3 separate regions of the Homo sapiens genome follow, and all the other regions are linked to region 1. Evidence: promoter capture Hi-C in human tissues and cell types (Jung and others, 2019). All regions are on one chromosome and are shown on one strand. Each heading gives the region's core, a stretch centred on a gene start or on the middle of the fragment in contact. The rest is flanking DNA. Distances are from core to core; before and after follow the strand shown. Region 1 holds the start of RPL5 (ribosomal protein L5). Region 2 holds the start of CDC7 (cell division cycle 7). Region 3 overlaps TGFBR3 (transforming growth factor beta receptor 3).

Region 1 (4,961 bases), core at 1-2,500:
GTAAACAGACAACTGTCACTTGTAGAATCCCAGGTTTCACAAGCAACTAGGGTCAAGAATCTTTTTCCTCTACCTTCCATGTCACAGACTAGTAGTTTCATAAAACAATAAAAATGAATCCTTAGAGAAATATGGAATAAAAGAAACATACAAAATGCAGGCCCCAATTTATTACATTTAACAGGTATAAAATTATTGTTATATTGCTTTCAAAAGGTTTTAAACGCTTTCAATTTCCATATTTGTTTCTTCAAGGACCAGCACCGGTAATTGTGCCAAACTTTTGCGAAGCACTGCTCCAGACAGCAATCAGTGATGCCAAACGTCGGTTTGTTCGGAACACGCTATGTCCCACTTCGAAAACCTAGCCTCAAATAACAACTACGTACCTCTCTCGCTTCCCATGTTATGTTTTTCAAAAGCCTAAATTACCTGCCACAAAGCTTAACTGGGCAAGAGCACATTCAGCAGTAATTCCCCCACTAAAACAGCACTGTTCCCCATCAGCTAAAGCAACATTTCATCCCACCCTTGGGGCCCTACCCCAATAATTAAAAACTCATCCGGCGACGGACTCTAGAGGAAGAGGCAGGAGGCACGTATTCCATGTTAAAGGAGCTTCCGGGGCCCAGGGACCCCTCGGCCTCCAAGCTCCACTGACAATTTTGGCTTAAAAGCCACTTGCTCAGCCCACGGGCACAAGCTTCCTAAATCTAAGACTTGCCGGCTCCGACATTCTCCTGGAAAACCCACGAAGTACTCGGTACTCGGAGGTCGAGTGGGACCCGAGGACCTGCAGCCCCCCTCCATTCTGGCGTTCCCCAGCTAGGCTGAGGTCGACTGCTTGCGACCTCTCACGCCCGGCCGCTTGCCAGCGCCCCCTCACACTAGACGGCAGTATCCGCACTCAGGCTGTCTACTAAACTCACCCTTCTCCCCAATCCGCCGTCCAAGCTCACGCAACCCTTCTTCGCCAACCCCTCCCCCCAAGTTCGCGCACCGGGCGGCAGCCATTTAAGGCCACGCTGGGAACTGCACCTCGACCAAGTCAGAGCTAGCAATCTAACGCCATCCGGCCCCTGCGACGCGCGAGACGGGCCCTAGGCTGGCATACGGGCAAGAAAAGGGAACCTCCATGCATCTAAAGCCCCGAGACCGAGGCATCCACTCACCATCCTGCGGAACAGAGACCGGCGTCCGCTGCTCGACAGAGACCTGCAGGCCCAGCGGCGCTAGGGGGTGGGAAAAGGGCCACAGCCCTTGCGCAGGCGCAGTATGTAGCGCGGACGGTCACGCCAGTGACGTGTGAAAGAGAGAGGGCGTCGGCCACAAGGCGTTTTACGTTCCGCCCCCTGCTGGAAGGAGGGTGAATGCCTGCCCAAGCTCTCCAGGTTCCAATGCTCGGGGTATCTCACAGGATCCGTGCGGTGAGGAGGAGCAGGGAGGATTACTGGAGCCTTTCGCTTTCTTTGCTACAGCGTTTTGTTTTGTTTTGTTTTGTTTTGTTTTGTTTTGTTTTGTTTTGTTTTGTTCATAACGCATTTTGCTTTTCTAAGCAGGAAAAAAAAAAAAAATTAAATAGGACAAGTTTGCTTGGGAGCCCTCTTGCCTTCTCTGGGCTACTCATTCTGGTCCAAGAGCATATGGACCCACCCTCCCATCTCACCCCCAGGAAGCCTTCCCTGAGAGCCCCAAGCCTGGGATAGGGGCCACTCCTCTGCCTTCCTACAGCAGCTTTCTACTGGCTTCAGCCCACCACAGACTGTCAACTTTTCGAGGTGGGCCCTGATGTCCACCTCTGACTCTCCAGCACCTAGCAGGGTATCAGCTGCTCACCGTTAGAGCTGGGAGAAGGGACGGCCAACCAGGATGACAGGGTTAAGTGACTCCAAAACACTGCCACTAGAATAAATCAGGATTAGGATGCCAATTACTTCTGATTCCAACTTGTAATTCCTTATATAATAGGAAAAATAAACAGAGTTCGCTATGGCCGATGTCAACAGAGCTCTAGAGGAGAAAACTTAAAACACTTTTCACAGGAAGTGTGATTCTACTTTTGTGGAGCCACCTTTGAAAGGGTAAAGAAAGAGGTATTCAATTCGTATTTATAGAAAATATTTAAAAACCTTCATTTTGGTGGATTATCAAGTTATTAGCCTACCAAAGGTGCTCCATGTCTTGGTCAGGCCCTGCTTACACTGGAGGCAAAAGCATCAGGAAGGAAAGTCTGCCTGGAAACAGGCCGACTCCTAACTTCTGCATGTTTTAGGGCAAGGGTTCATAGGAAGACCCACATACTATTCATCTGAATATTTAGAAGTTGTGGGCCGGGCACGGTAGCTCAGGCCAGGTGCGGTGGGTCACGCCTGTAATCCCAGCGCTTTGGGAGGCCGAGGCAGGCGGATCGCGAGGTCAAGAGATCGAGACCATCCTGGACAACATGGTGAAACCCCATCTCTGCTAAAAATACAAAAACCAGCCGGGCATGGTGGCACGCACCTGTAGTCCCAGCTACTCGGGAGACTGAGACAGGAGAATCGCTTGAACCCAGGAGGCAGAGGTTGCAGTGAGCCGAGATCACACCACTGCACTCCAGCCTGGCGACAGTGAGACTCCGTCTCAAAAAAAAAAAAAAAGAAAGAAGTCATGAAGCAGGCTGGATGTGCTGGCTCAGGCCTGTAATCCCAGCATTTTGGGAGGCCAAGGCAGGAGGATCACTTAAACCCAGGAGTTCGGGACCAGCCTGGGAGACTTGGTGAGCCCCTGTCTCTATAAAAAATAAAATCCAAAAAAAGAAGTTATGAAACAAACAACATGTTAAATTAAATATACTTTATCATCCTTATCCCTCTCCTTCTTACCTTATAAATCCATAACAAGAAAATTAAAAATATGTATACCTATTCCCCTTGGTCACAGTCAGGGGTCTGTGGCTAGCATGGCTGGTTCAGCCAGTGCAGTTGGTGACACCAGGAGCTAGGGGGTAATTGTCCAGCATCCTCAGCCAACAGCATCTTATTCAAGTGGTAAAAGTTAAAAAACCACCAATAGTGGGATGAATTAACATTATAGGTTCACACCTGTAATCCCAACATTTTGGGAGGCTGAGCCAGGAGGATCACTTCAGCCCAGGAGTTCGAGACCAGCCTGGGCACATAAGAAGACCTCTATCTCTAGGGAAAAAGAAAAAGGAAAGCAAAGAAAAAATAAATTAACATTATATGCCTCCTGATGCACTGAGAAGAACACAAAACACTTCCTACCAAATTTACATAATCTAATCTAAAATAGTTATCTAATATGTACCAACCAAATCTAATCATGATGAAACTACACGTAAATCCAGATTTAGATAATTCTACAAAGTAACTGGCCTGTACTCTTCAAAAATGACAAGATCATGAAAGATAAGGAAAGCCTAAACAATATTCCAGACTGAAAGAGACCAAAGTGACATGACAACTGTATGCAATGTGTGATTCCATATTGCATCCTGGACAAGAAAGGAAAAAGGGAAATAAGAAGTCTTTGTATTTCTTTTGTTCAAAGGACATTGTCAGAACAATCGGTGAAACTTTACTGAAGTCTGGATTAGGTGATAGTAATGAATCAATGTTAAATTCTGATTTTTTTTTGAGATGGAGTTTCGCTCTTGTTGCTGAGGCTGGAGTGCAATGGCGCAATCTCGGCTCACCACAACCTCTGCCTCCTGGGTTCAAGCGATTCTCCTGCCTCAGCCTCCCGAGTAGCTAGGATTACAGGCATGTGCCACTATGCCCGGCTAATTTTGTATTTTTAGTAGAGACGGGGTTTCTCCATATTGATCAGGCTGGTCTCGAACTCCTGACCTCAGATGATCCACCCCCCACCTTGGCCTCCCAAAGTGCTGGGATTACAGGTGTGAGCCACCAAGCCTGGCTAAATTCTGATTTTCATAGGTAGACTGGTTATGAATGAGAGTTCTTTTTTTTTTTTAAGGTAATACACACTGAACTATTTTGGAGTAGTGGGCATTATTTCTGCAACTTGGTCCCAGTAAATGGCTTAGGAAGAAAATTACATGTGTGTATATACATACACATATATGTGCATGTAAAGAGAGAGATTAATAAGGCAAAAATGTGTTAAAATGGTGACAGTGGGGAACTTGGGAGAAGAGTATATGGAAATTCTTTGTACGGTTCTTAACCCAAGCAGTGGTTTTGAAATTATTTCAAAATAAAAAACAAAACATTGGCTGGGTGTCATGGCTCACCCCTGTAATCCCAGGACTTTGGGAAGCCTAAGCAGGTGGATCACTTGAAGTCAGGAGTTTGAGACCAGCCTGGGCAACATGACAACTCCTCATCTCTACAAAAAATAAAAATTGTAGCTGGGCGTGGTGGTACGTGCCTGTGGTCCCAGCTACTCGGGAGGCTGAAGCGGCAGGATCACATGAGCCCAGGAGGCAGAGATTACAGCGGGTCATGATCTTGCCACTGCACTCCAGCCTGGGTGATACAGTAAGACCCTGTCTTGTAAAACCAAAAAACAAAAAACCTGCGCTAGAATGGGAGCTATTTGTTATTTATTATTCCTTCTAGAATATAGCTTTTATTATTTGAAATGAAAGTGAACTCAGATTTGGCTGGGCACAGTGGCTCACGCCTGTAATCCCAGCACTTTGGGAGGCCCACGCGGGCAGATCACAAGGTCAGGAGTTCGAGACCAGCCTGGCCAATATGGTGAAACCCCATCTCAACTAAAAATACAAAAATTAGCTGAGCGTGGTCGTGGGCACCTGTAGTCCCAGCTACTCGGGAGGCTGAGGCAGGAGAATCTGTTGAATGTTGTGGGTGGAGGTTGCAATGAGCCGAGATCGCGCCACTGCACTCCAGCCTGGGTGACAGAGCGAGACTCCATCTCAAAAAAAAAAAAAAAAGAAAGTGAACTCAGTTTCATCAAATATGTCAACCATA
Region 2 (4,961 bases), core at 843-3,342, 1.3 Mb after region 1:
ACTAAAAAAACAGCTAACTGCTGGAAAAATGGAAAGGAAGAGGAACAGTATCCATGAAACTGGATGAAAGTGGCATTTTAAGATTATTCTAGCACCAACATACAAGATGAACTGAAGAATGGAAAAGTGCAAGCAGGCAGCATAGGTGAGAAACTGTTGTAAATCAGGAACAAAGTGTAAGGAAATTAATTAATGTGGTGGAAATGGGAATGGAAAGAAGACACAATGCCATACTTACTAAAAAGAAATAAAGCTAGGTGACGATATGGGGAACAAATAAAAAGCATCAGCTGAAGATTAAAGTTTCAAGTTTAGGTAAGTGGGATAACTGACTTCCATCAAAGCAGAAAGTATGTGATGTCATATTTTTCTAGGGTGGGGTTATAAAGAATATATGGACAAAAGGTCAAAATAAGTATCTTTTAGACAAGCACAGAATTCACTTAAGACAAAGATGGGAAAGATGATCTGGCTACCCTTTCAGAAAAAAAAAAATACAGTCAACTAGAATTCCTCTATTTAACAAATATTTATTATTAACAAATACCTACTATGTCCCAGGTCCTGTGCCAGAGCAGAAATGAAGGTACACATGCGAGTGTACAAGAGCAGGCACTGCTTGACCCTGTCTTATTCACCCTAAGGTCTGGTTTACGGTCAAAGAACATTTCATGCTGTACACTGAGATATGGTGCTTTATTATTGCTACAAACATTTCATATTTTTTTGTCTGTGAGTTCTGCTTTTGAATACTTAAGTGATGATCTCCAGTGTCAATTTCTACATTTAAGCTTAAGGCAATGTGGTGAGTAGAGATAAGAACACAGATACAAAAGAGAAATTTAATTTGGGCATCATCAAATTTCTGCATTCTTAATTACCAATACTGAGACCATAGCAACTTCAACCGTAAAACAGGTTGTATTACAGTCTTCCAAATCGCAATTCAGTCCTACATTTAGATCATACGAAGCTCTGTTTTAACACTGTCCTATAGAAACATACAATTCACTTTATAAGATTCAATCTTATTTTTTGAGAGGAATTGAAAACACAGAATTGTTGCCTGAAAAATCTTTATAACTGTACATCTTTGGATTTAAACACGTACCTGCAAGTTTAAAATTCTGCTCGTTTTTTTTTAAAGAGCCTTCAGCCTGAAACCGGTCACGCTGGGGAGAAAAAGCCATTGGCTCATCCATCTGAATCCCCAAAGACGCCTCCATCACAAGCCAATTGAGATGCAAAATGCCAGCTAAGGGGTTACATCCACAGGGGGAGCAAAGCAGCTGTGAAAATTAGAACACTAGAGAAATTTAGATCACTCGCTAAACCACGCACTAAAAACATGCTACTGCCCCCCAAAGGGGCAAACATTTTCAAACGCACGATGTGTCCAAACCTCCACAGTAGGGCATACTGTGGCCTTGTCTAAGGAATTCCATGTGCTTTATTTTCACCTATCAGAAACACCGGCAGGGGGCTGCAGGGAGAATTTCCCGGCTTGGGCACCCGCGCAGCAGCAGGCGCAGTGGGAAACGGCGAGGCTGCCAGTCCGGCACAGCCAGCGGGACCGCGTGGGGGAGGGGCCGAGCGCCGGGGGCGGTTTGAAGTCAGGAAAAGAACTGAGGGAGAAAACCTTTTCGCCACTGACAGGAAGCGCCAGGAGGCTCGTCCAAGGCCCCAAGCAAGTTGACGGAGAACTGATACGACCCTGGCCACGAGTACTGGGCGGAGGAGGAGAAGGGTGAATGAATGGGAATCCGCCGGCCAGCGCTGGCCGCGAGCTCAGCCGGGAAGGACCGGCTTCCCTCGGGCCAGAGACCGAACCAGATGCTTAGTGCGCAGGCGCGCGACTTTCCCGCCGCAGGTCGGAGGGATCCGAAGGGGGGCGGGAAAAGGAACTGCACGGCGAGAAAACCGAAGTCACGATCCAGAATTCGTTCCTAATCCCTCACAATCCCGCGCCATGGAACAAACCGTCGGAAACTCACGGTTTAAGGGAGTACGACTTCTGTGGCTCCCCAGATGCCTGGGTCGCCGTCTCCAAGAGATCCCCACCTACCGAGTCGATCGGATGCGCCTGCGCAACACTTCCCGCCGCCGCTCTGGTTGCACATGCGCACACTAAAGCCCTCGACCCCGCGGATTCCGCTACTGGGCGTTTGCGCAAGAGGGTGGGGTTTCTTCCCGCCGCCTTGGCCAGCTAGAAGAGCGGTTACGGGAATGAAGCCCGTGGATGATCTTAAAAAACAGGGTGAACCATAAGGCTAAGGGCCCAGCATGATTTCCAGGAAAGAAGCTAGCTCAGAGAAGGAAAAATCTCAGGTGCTGACACATCCCTATATACGTGGCCGGCCGCACAACACATTGGGCACTCCATGGATAAAAGGCACTTTCTTGACTCTGCTTTTATTTCCTTTTCGTTGAGTGCCCTACTTCCCCGTTAAAAACAAGCAGAAAATGTAATTGCTGATTGTTTGTGGCTGTGTTAGTAGAAATTAGCACAGTGGCAGGAAGGCAGTGTATACTATTTACTGAGCCCTTGGCTATGAGGTAGGTGGGTTTTTCTAGGGGCTGGAATCATAGTGAGCAAGATAAACACCATCCCTGTAGGAAGCTAAATTCCAATGAAGCGATGACAATAACGGATGAATAAATGAACAGTATTCTTTCCGGCATTGATTACTACTTGAGGGAAATACTGACCAGGAAGGTGGCATCTAGATGGTCAGGGAAGCCCTCTCAAAGAGACCTGGATGAGAAAGAGCTGGTAGGGAGACTGTTGTCCTGGCAAAGAAAGGATAGGGCAAATGCAGAGAGAAAGAGGAACTTGGTATGTTGCAGGGGCAGGGCAGGAAAGGCCAGTGTGGGGGAAGCATAGTGAGTGAGCCGCAAGATAGTCCCAGATAGATGAAGGTGGAGAGTTAGGCAGAAGCCAGACCAGGGTCCTTGAAAGCCAGGGTAAGAAGTTTAGTGTTTGTTCTGAGTACAATTGGAAGCTATTTGAAAGTTTTAAAGCAAGGGAGTAATATGATCTATCTGTTATGAAGAGAATGGATTGTAGAGGGGCAAGTGTGGAAGCAGAGGAAATAGGATGCACTTTATGTTTAGGAGAAACATAATGGTAGTTTGGACCAGAACAATGGCGGAAGAAATAAAAGAAAGAAGACAATGGGATTTGGTGATTGGCTATGGAAAATGAAGAAAAGGGCATCATCAACAGTGAATCTTAGGTTTTGGGCTAGCATATGTGTGGGTGGTAGTGCCACATAGAAGGGAAGTCTGTGAGGTAATGGTTTTTGATTGAGTGAGGTGGAAGAGAGTAAATCAAGGATTCTAGTGTGGATACCGAGAAAGAGAAAAGCAGACCTTGACATCCAGGAGATGGCCTGGTACTACCAGCTTGGTTTGCTGTTGCTTTGAGCTGGCCTGGCAATCACAGCCAAGCATTGGTATTCTTCTGTTGAACATAAACAATTTCACAGAACATCAGACAAGACAGAGTTGTGACCGTGATAGATCAAGACAAAAGTAAGATCACTCTATAATCATATGTGAACACAGACACAACATCAACATTGCCCAAGCCATAAAAATGATCAAATATCTCCTTATCCTAGCTAATATGAGTGCCTGCTGCTTCTTTACCAATTATAGTTTTAACCTCAGTCTAGTCTTCCTTCCTTCTACATAATACTTATTAAAATACCCAATTATAGAATTATCCTTGCTTCCTTACAGCTTCCAATCCAGGCCAAAGTCCCTCTTTCTTGCACCCTTCCGTAAATCTCCTAACACAAACTCAAATTCTATAACAAGTCCTTTTTAACACCCTCTTCCTAAGACATCCCATGGTTCCCCATGGTGTGCATTCTCACGTACTGAAACAAGCAATACATCCAAGTTGCTCAGCTATAGTTGTGTTCCTGGTGGTCATTATCGGGAGGTCGTTAACAATAATCAAGTCCAAGATATGCAAGTGATGATGTCAAAGAAACAGATGAATATATTGGTCTGGGGTATAGTTCAGGGTGAAGAAATAAACTTGGCAGTTATGAATTTATAGATGAAACCTAGTCTTGGACTATACGATATTATCTAAGCAAAGATTGTAGATGGAGAGTTGGGCTATGATAACTTCCAACATTTCATAGTTGAGCAGAGGAGGAGGAAGAACCAGCAAGAGACTGAGAAGTAGTAGTCTGTGAGGTAAGAAGGTGATGTCATAGAAGTCAAGAGCAGAAAGTTTTACAATTAGAAGAAAGTGGTCAGCTATAGCAAATGCTTCACAGAAGTAGTGAGGATACAGAATTGATCAGAGATAGTCATTAGAGCCTTCAGAAAGAGCAGCTTTGGAGTGAGACAGAAAGACTATATTGAATTTATTGACGAACAAAAGATCTACAAATGGAGACAACTCTTGAGGTTTGGTTTGTTTCTTAGTTTGGTTTCTTGTCTTTATTGGGGGGTAGGGCGCACAAATAGAATAGTGGCTACAGTGTCAAATTGTTTATAAACTTTATACTAGCCGTGTAACTTGGGCAAGTTATTCAATATCTGTGACACTCCTATTTCAAAAATGTAACATGGATAAAATACTTGCTTGGTTTTGCTATAGGGATTAAATTAGATAAAGTGACATAATACATGTAAAGTGCTTGGTCCCATAGGCCTGGACATTGTTAGCTTGTATTAGTTAATTTATAATGGGTACTTTTTCCCCCTTTGTCAATGATCCCATCCCTAATACCTAGCACATGGCTGTTCACATAGTATGGATTTAATAAATGGCTATGGAATTAATGTACAATGAGAAGTTAGGTTTTATTTATTTATTTTTATTATTCATTCATTTATGTATTTACTTAGTAGAGACAGAGTCTCGCTCTGTTGCCCAGGCTAAAATGCAGTGGCATGATCATGAATCACTATAGCTCCGAGGCTCAAGCAATTCTCCT
Region 3 (4,961 bases), core at 699-3,198, 1.0 Mb after region 1:
ACTAGCATTGGCTTTGGTCAGAATTATTTTTATGATAAAGTAGAGCATATTTTTAAATTTTTAATTATCTAAGTAATATTCAAAAACACATTTGCACAGTAAAAGCATTAAGAATGTATTAGGTTGGTGCAAAAGTAATTGTGTTTTTTGCCATTACTTTTTTTTTTTTTTTTTTTTTTTTGAGACAGTCTTATCTCTGTCACCCAGTCTGGAGTGCAGTGGCATGATCTCGGCTCACTCCAACTTCTGTCTCCCAGGTTCAAGTGATTCTCATGCCTCAGCCTCCCAAGTAGCTGGGATTATAGGCGTGTGCCACCATACCTGGCTAATGTTTGTATTTTTAGTAGAGGCAGGGTTTCACCATGTTGGCCAGGTTGCTCTCGAACCCCTGACCTTGGGTGATCTGCCTGCCTCAGTCTCCCAAGTGCTGGGATTACAGTCATGAGCCACTGTGCCCGGCCATTACTATTACTTTTAATGGAAAAAACTGCAATTACTTTTGTGTCAACCTCATAGAAGGATGGAGAGCAAAGTCAGAGTTCCTCTCGTGTCTCCAACCCGTCTCTAGCATCACCCCTACCTTAGGTAAGAACCATTTATAGTTAGAGTTATCCATTTAATCCTTTTTCTATGCATGTATGTGCATGCATATGGACAAATACACATAGTTTTAGAAGGTTAATAAATTGTATCATTCTTTACATACAAAAAGAACATGTCATAAGATATTTCTGTCTGTACAAATAACAGTGTTTTAAATGCAGCATATGTATTTCATGATATAGATACACCCTTTTTGATGAACATTTAGGTTATTATTATTTTAGACGGAGTCTCGCTGTGTCACCCAGGCTGGAGTGCAGTGGTGCAATCTCTGCTCACTGCAAGCTCCGCCTCCTGGGTTCACGCCATTCTCCTGCCTCAGCCTCCCGAGTAGCTGGGACTACAGGTGCCCGCCACCCCGCCCAGCTAATTTTTTTGTATTTTTTTAGTACAGACGGGGTTTCAACGTGTTAGCCAGGATGGTCTCGATCTCCTGACCTCATGATCCGCCCGCCTCGGCCTCCCAAAGTGCTGGGATTACAGGTGTGAGCCACCGTGCCCGGCTGGTTATTTTAAAGTATTTGTTTATTATAAATACTGTGGCAGTTAACATCTATGCCTGTAATACTTTATAGTACCATAACAGTGATGTTGTTATGGTGTAGTACAGTAGGTGTATTTACATTGATATCAGTTACAGCCTGGTGTAATTACAGTTATGATGTAATGCCTTTAGAGAGAGGTTGGACAGTTCAGTTGCTGTCCCAAACCTGGCTGAGAAGATTACAAAAGATTTAAAATATTTCTACTGGTCTTTATTATTGAATGACTACACCCTCTGAAAAGTATGAATTGAGCATTATGATTGCTCATAGGTAAAAGGTTAGCAGGCATTTAATATGTGCTAGGTATTTTCTTGTGTATTCTCTCATTTGAGTCTTATAATAATCTCATAAAGAATGTGCTGCTATTCACTGTTTATCTGGAACTAAGACTGAGAAAGACTGTGGCTTGCATAAAGTGACACAGCTTCTAAGAAGCCAGTTCAAGATTTGAACCCTCATCTGATGATCAGTTTGTTTTTTCTTTCCCCATTTTCTGAAGCTGGTTCATTCTCTTAAGAACTGTAAGGAGAAAAATGATAGAAGGCAGAATATCTTTGAACTAATGAAATCATCGCATGAGCAGAGAAGCAGAGTGGGCATCCTGTGGATTTAGGGGAGGGAGGGGGTGGTAAAGCCTCTGAACCTGTCACTGGACTTGGAGGTGTGATTCATGACTTCAGGATAGTGGCTATGCTGAGAGACCTTGGTGTCTGACAGCAACGTCCTGCTATTGTAAGCTATGGATTTACTGTCATGCTAAGAAATAAATCATGACCAGGAAAGGCTGTATGTTTAGGTGCTGCTGATGCCTGTAGGCCCTCTCCAAACAGGAGAATGGCTCTCAGTGGATGAATTGTCTCAGCTTCCTCTGAGTTGTAATTTCTATGTGGGTCAAAGGGTTATTTTTAGCCTGTGGGATCCCTAGCTCTTTGAGGAGTGGCCTCGCTTACAAGGTCAGTGGAGTGGGATGATGGTCGGGATTTTTTTTTTTTCCCAGACGGAGTCTTGCTCTGTCACCCAGGCTGGAATACAGTGGCGCGATCTCAGCTCACTGCAACCCCTGCCTCTCGAGTTCAAGTGATTCTCCTGCCTCAGCCTCCTAGGTAGCTGGGATTACAGGCGCATGCCACCATGCCTGGGTAATTTTTGTATTCTTAGTAGAGACACGGTTTCACCATGTTGGCCAGGCTGGTCTTGAACTCTTAACCTCATGATCCACCTGCCTCGGCCTCCCAAAGTGTTGGGATTACAGGCATGAACCACCACACCTGGCGATGATCAGGATTTAAGGATTGTTTCTGAGCTCTTCCTGGACCCTGTGTTTTAGGTCCCCCAAAGAAGGTGTGAACAGCCTTTTGGAATCTGTTTTACTCTGGCAAAATAATCTGTGTCCATAGATTGCAGGAGGATGCTGTTGGTGTTATAATAATGCTCTCACATTTAAAAATAAGTTATCAAGTGTATTTGAGGAAGAAAACTAAGAAAATCTGGAAAAAACCCCACCATCAACAAAAGACATGCAAAACTCTAAAACTTGTAATAGGATAAATGATGTTCTTGTAATGAATGTGTCAGCATTTTAACACATGTGTGCTCAGTGTGTGGTGATGCAGGATGTGTATAACAGAAAGCACAAACGTGGTCTGTGTTTACATTAAATCTCCCACCTCCAAGACACACACACAAAAGGTCCCACTTGAGTATGTGTAATTACATCTCTGAATACTCCCTTGATCCTATTTTTTTCCTTTTCCCTAAACACATATTTTGGTTACTTCTCCAAAGATACATGATATATATTAGCCTCACTCAGAACCACAGGGAACATACTCAATTGAATCACACCTCTATGAGTAGTGTATAAAGTGTAACATTTTAAAACACCAGGGACCAGGGCTGGCAAGGTCCACGGGGAATCCTGAAGGCTGGTTTCCAGCCACAACTGTGCTGGAATGAAAATAGAAAACAATGAGGCATGTGCAGAGTCAGCTTTTCTTTGTGTCACAGCTCAGCAGTTTTTCTGCTGTCCTAAACTTTCCTAAAAAAAAAAAAAAAAAAAAAAAAAAAAAAAAAAAAAAAAAAAGGCTGGGGCTAAGGGGAAATGGTGCAGTTGCAGTTGAAATTTTTTTTTAATAGTAAAGACTGAAAATATAAACTAACAGCTGGTGCTGTAGGAACATGTGAAATGAAGAGTGAATTAATGGTGAGAAATCTCACTGCTCTTTGCTTGGCTGTGAGGACACGCGTAGGAAGGACTTGTGGAAACTTGTTTGGTAAAATAGAAAAAAAAGGAAAAGAAAAAGCTAAGTAACCATCAAGCCTTTTTCAGGAGTGGGGGAAAAATAAAAATTTATATACTCTAAACTTAAAGCTTTATTTATGATCATTATTTTAAATATCTGTAAATGCATCTGTAAAAAACTCCAGCCAAGACAGAGGGAGATGTGAATTATCAAGTATATTGACTTTTTTTTTTTTTTTCTGTTATCAGTAGCATCCTTCAGAAAGTACTGATTAAAAAGGAAGGCCATTCCCAGTTCTTGGTTTATTTGCCTCATAGCGCACCAAGTCAAGGTTGAGCTGGGGCCTTATTCCAGAAAGCACAGGCTTCCTTTCTGATTGGAAATAATATGTATTTTGTTTGACCTTCAGAATACTCATGGCTTTACTGGAATACATGGGCCAACATTTGTCCTGGCAAGGCCAGGGCAGTTTAAGATAGGTATCCACAGGGATTGCTTTATAGAGCAATTAAAAGCAGTGGGAGGGAGGTGACTGCAGAAATTCAGACGTTTGCATCCTTTCTGGCCTAAAAATCAAGTGAGTAATTTCAAAAAGCAGAATTTGAAAACAAACAAACAAGCACTTCTAGAAGTTTCTGTCTGAACACTTGAGAATTTTGCCAAGGTCATAGTGTTCTTTATTTTTTCTTTTTCCTTACATGTTACTTTCTGAAATATGATCATAGTGTTCTTTTGCAACTGATCTTGGTGTGAAGAGGGGGTTACATCTTATATATTACACAGTGCTAATATGTGTAATATTAACATTTTTTTGAAAGATTGTCAAATATGGACCGTGGAAAACAGTTTCCATGCCGTTTGAACGTTATGTTCTTTATGATGCTTTGTTTATAAAAATATTGTTAGATAGCCAGGGATGTTTACTACTGCCAGCTGGAGTTAGGCCTCATGGTAGCTTTTTAAAGTCAGGCTGGAGGTGAATTCAAAGCCTAACACAGAGTTTCAAGTTATTGTTCTTATTTGAAGTAAATGCATAATTGGAGACTGTATTCTGATTTCTTGAATTCTTAGCTATGCCAGTAATTCTTGTTTCTTAGGGCCACAGTTTGGTTCTGTCAAATGTGTAGTTGTAGAGATGATAAATGAGTACTCAGAGATTAGATGAATTCATATATGGTGACATTAAGATGTTTTCTTTAATAAGAATACCTATTATATGGGAGTAAGTGAAAATAATCATGTCTTAATGTTGTTGAAATCCTGTATTCATTTGGGGGAAAAAAAGTAAGTACTTTGTATTCTGCTTATGTAAAGGGATATGAAAGAATGTATATAACTAAATTTCTTAATGCTTCATTTTGCTTTTGATGTGCAAAATATAACTTTACTGCTAGGTAAAATTATACTTGAATATTAACAGTTATTGCATGAGTTTAAAGTTTCAGTTGAGCCCAATATATGGGAACCACGCAGTTTCTAGTGATTTTCAAAATATAGTCCCATAAAGATGAAAGAGACTCAATAGCTGAAATAGGTGGTACACTTGATTTAAGTGAACATTTGCTAACCC

Evidence for each region. The method cuts DNA at HindIII sites, captures the fragments that hold promoters and counts their contacts. A contact is called where the count stands out against the background at its distance.
Region 2: the fragment with the promoter of CDC7 here is called in contact with the fragment with the promoter of RPL5 in region 1 in 1 of the 25 tissues and cell types used here (lymphoblastoid cells).
Region 3: a fragment that was not itself captured here is called in contact with the fragment with the promoter of RPL5 in region 1 in 1 of the 25 tissues and cell types used here (aorta).

Annotation. Positions count from the first base shown.
Region 1 is chr1:92,828,329-92,833,289 of GRCh38, reverse strand. It overlaps RPL5 (ribosomal protein L5), which reads right to left and starts at 1,250. Exons shown (of 8, transcript NM_000969.5): 1 at 1,173-1,250. The coding sequence starts at 1,175. It also overlaps a transcript of DIPK1A not described here. RefSeq lists enhancers at 172-809, 962-1,281, 810-1,448, 1,452-1,501. The HindIII fragment of the contact is 19,619 bases long and covers 1-4,961 here.
Region 2 is chr1:91,497,982-91,502,942 of GRCh38, reverse strand. It overlaps CDC7 (cell division cycle 7), which reads right to left and starts at 2,092. Exons shown (of 12, transcript NM_003503.4): 1 at 1,995-2,092; 2 at 1,112-1,289. The coding sequence starts at 1,226. LOC105378856 (a long non-coding RNA gene) reads left to right here and starts at 2,095. Exons shown (of 3, transcript XR_947599.4): 1 at 2,095-4,428. RefSeq lists an enhancer at 1,251-1,450. The HindIII fragment of the contact is 7,471 bases long and covers 1-4,961 here.
Region 3 is chr1:91,816,549-91,821,509 of GRCh38, reverse strand. All of the region lies in intron 2 of TGFBR3 (transforming growth factor beta receptor 3), which reads left to right. Among named protein-coding and RNA genes, the nearest start is that of TGFBR3, 67 kb to the left of the region's middle. The HindIII fragment of the contact is 7,778 bases long and covers 1-4,961 here.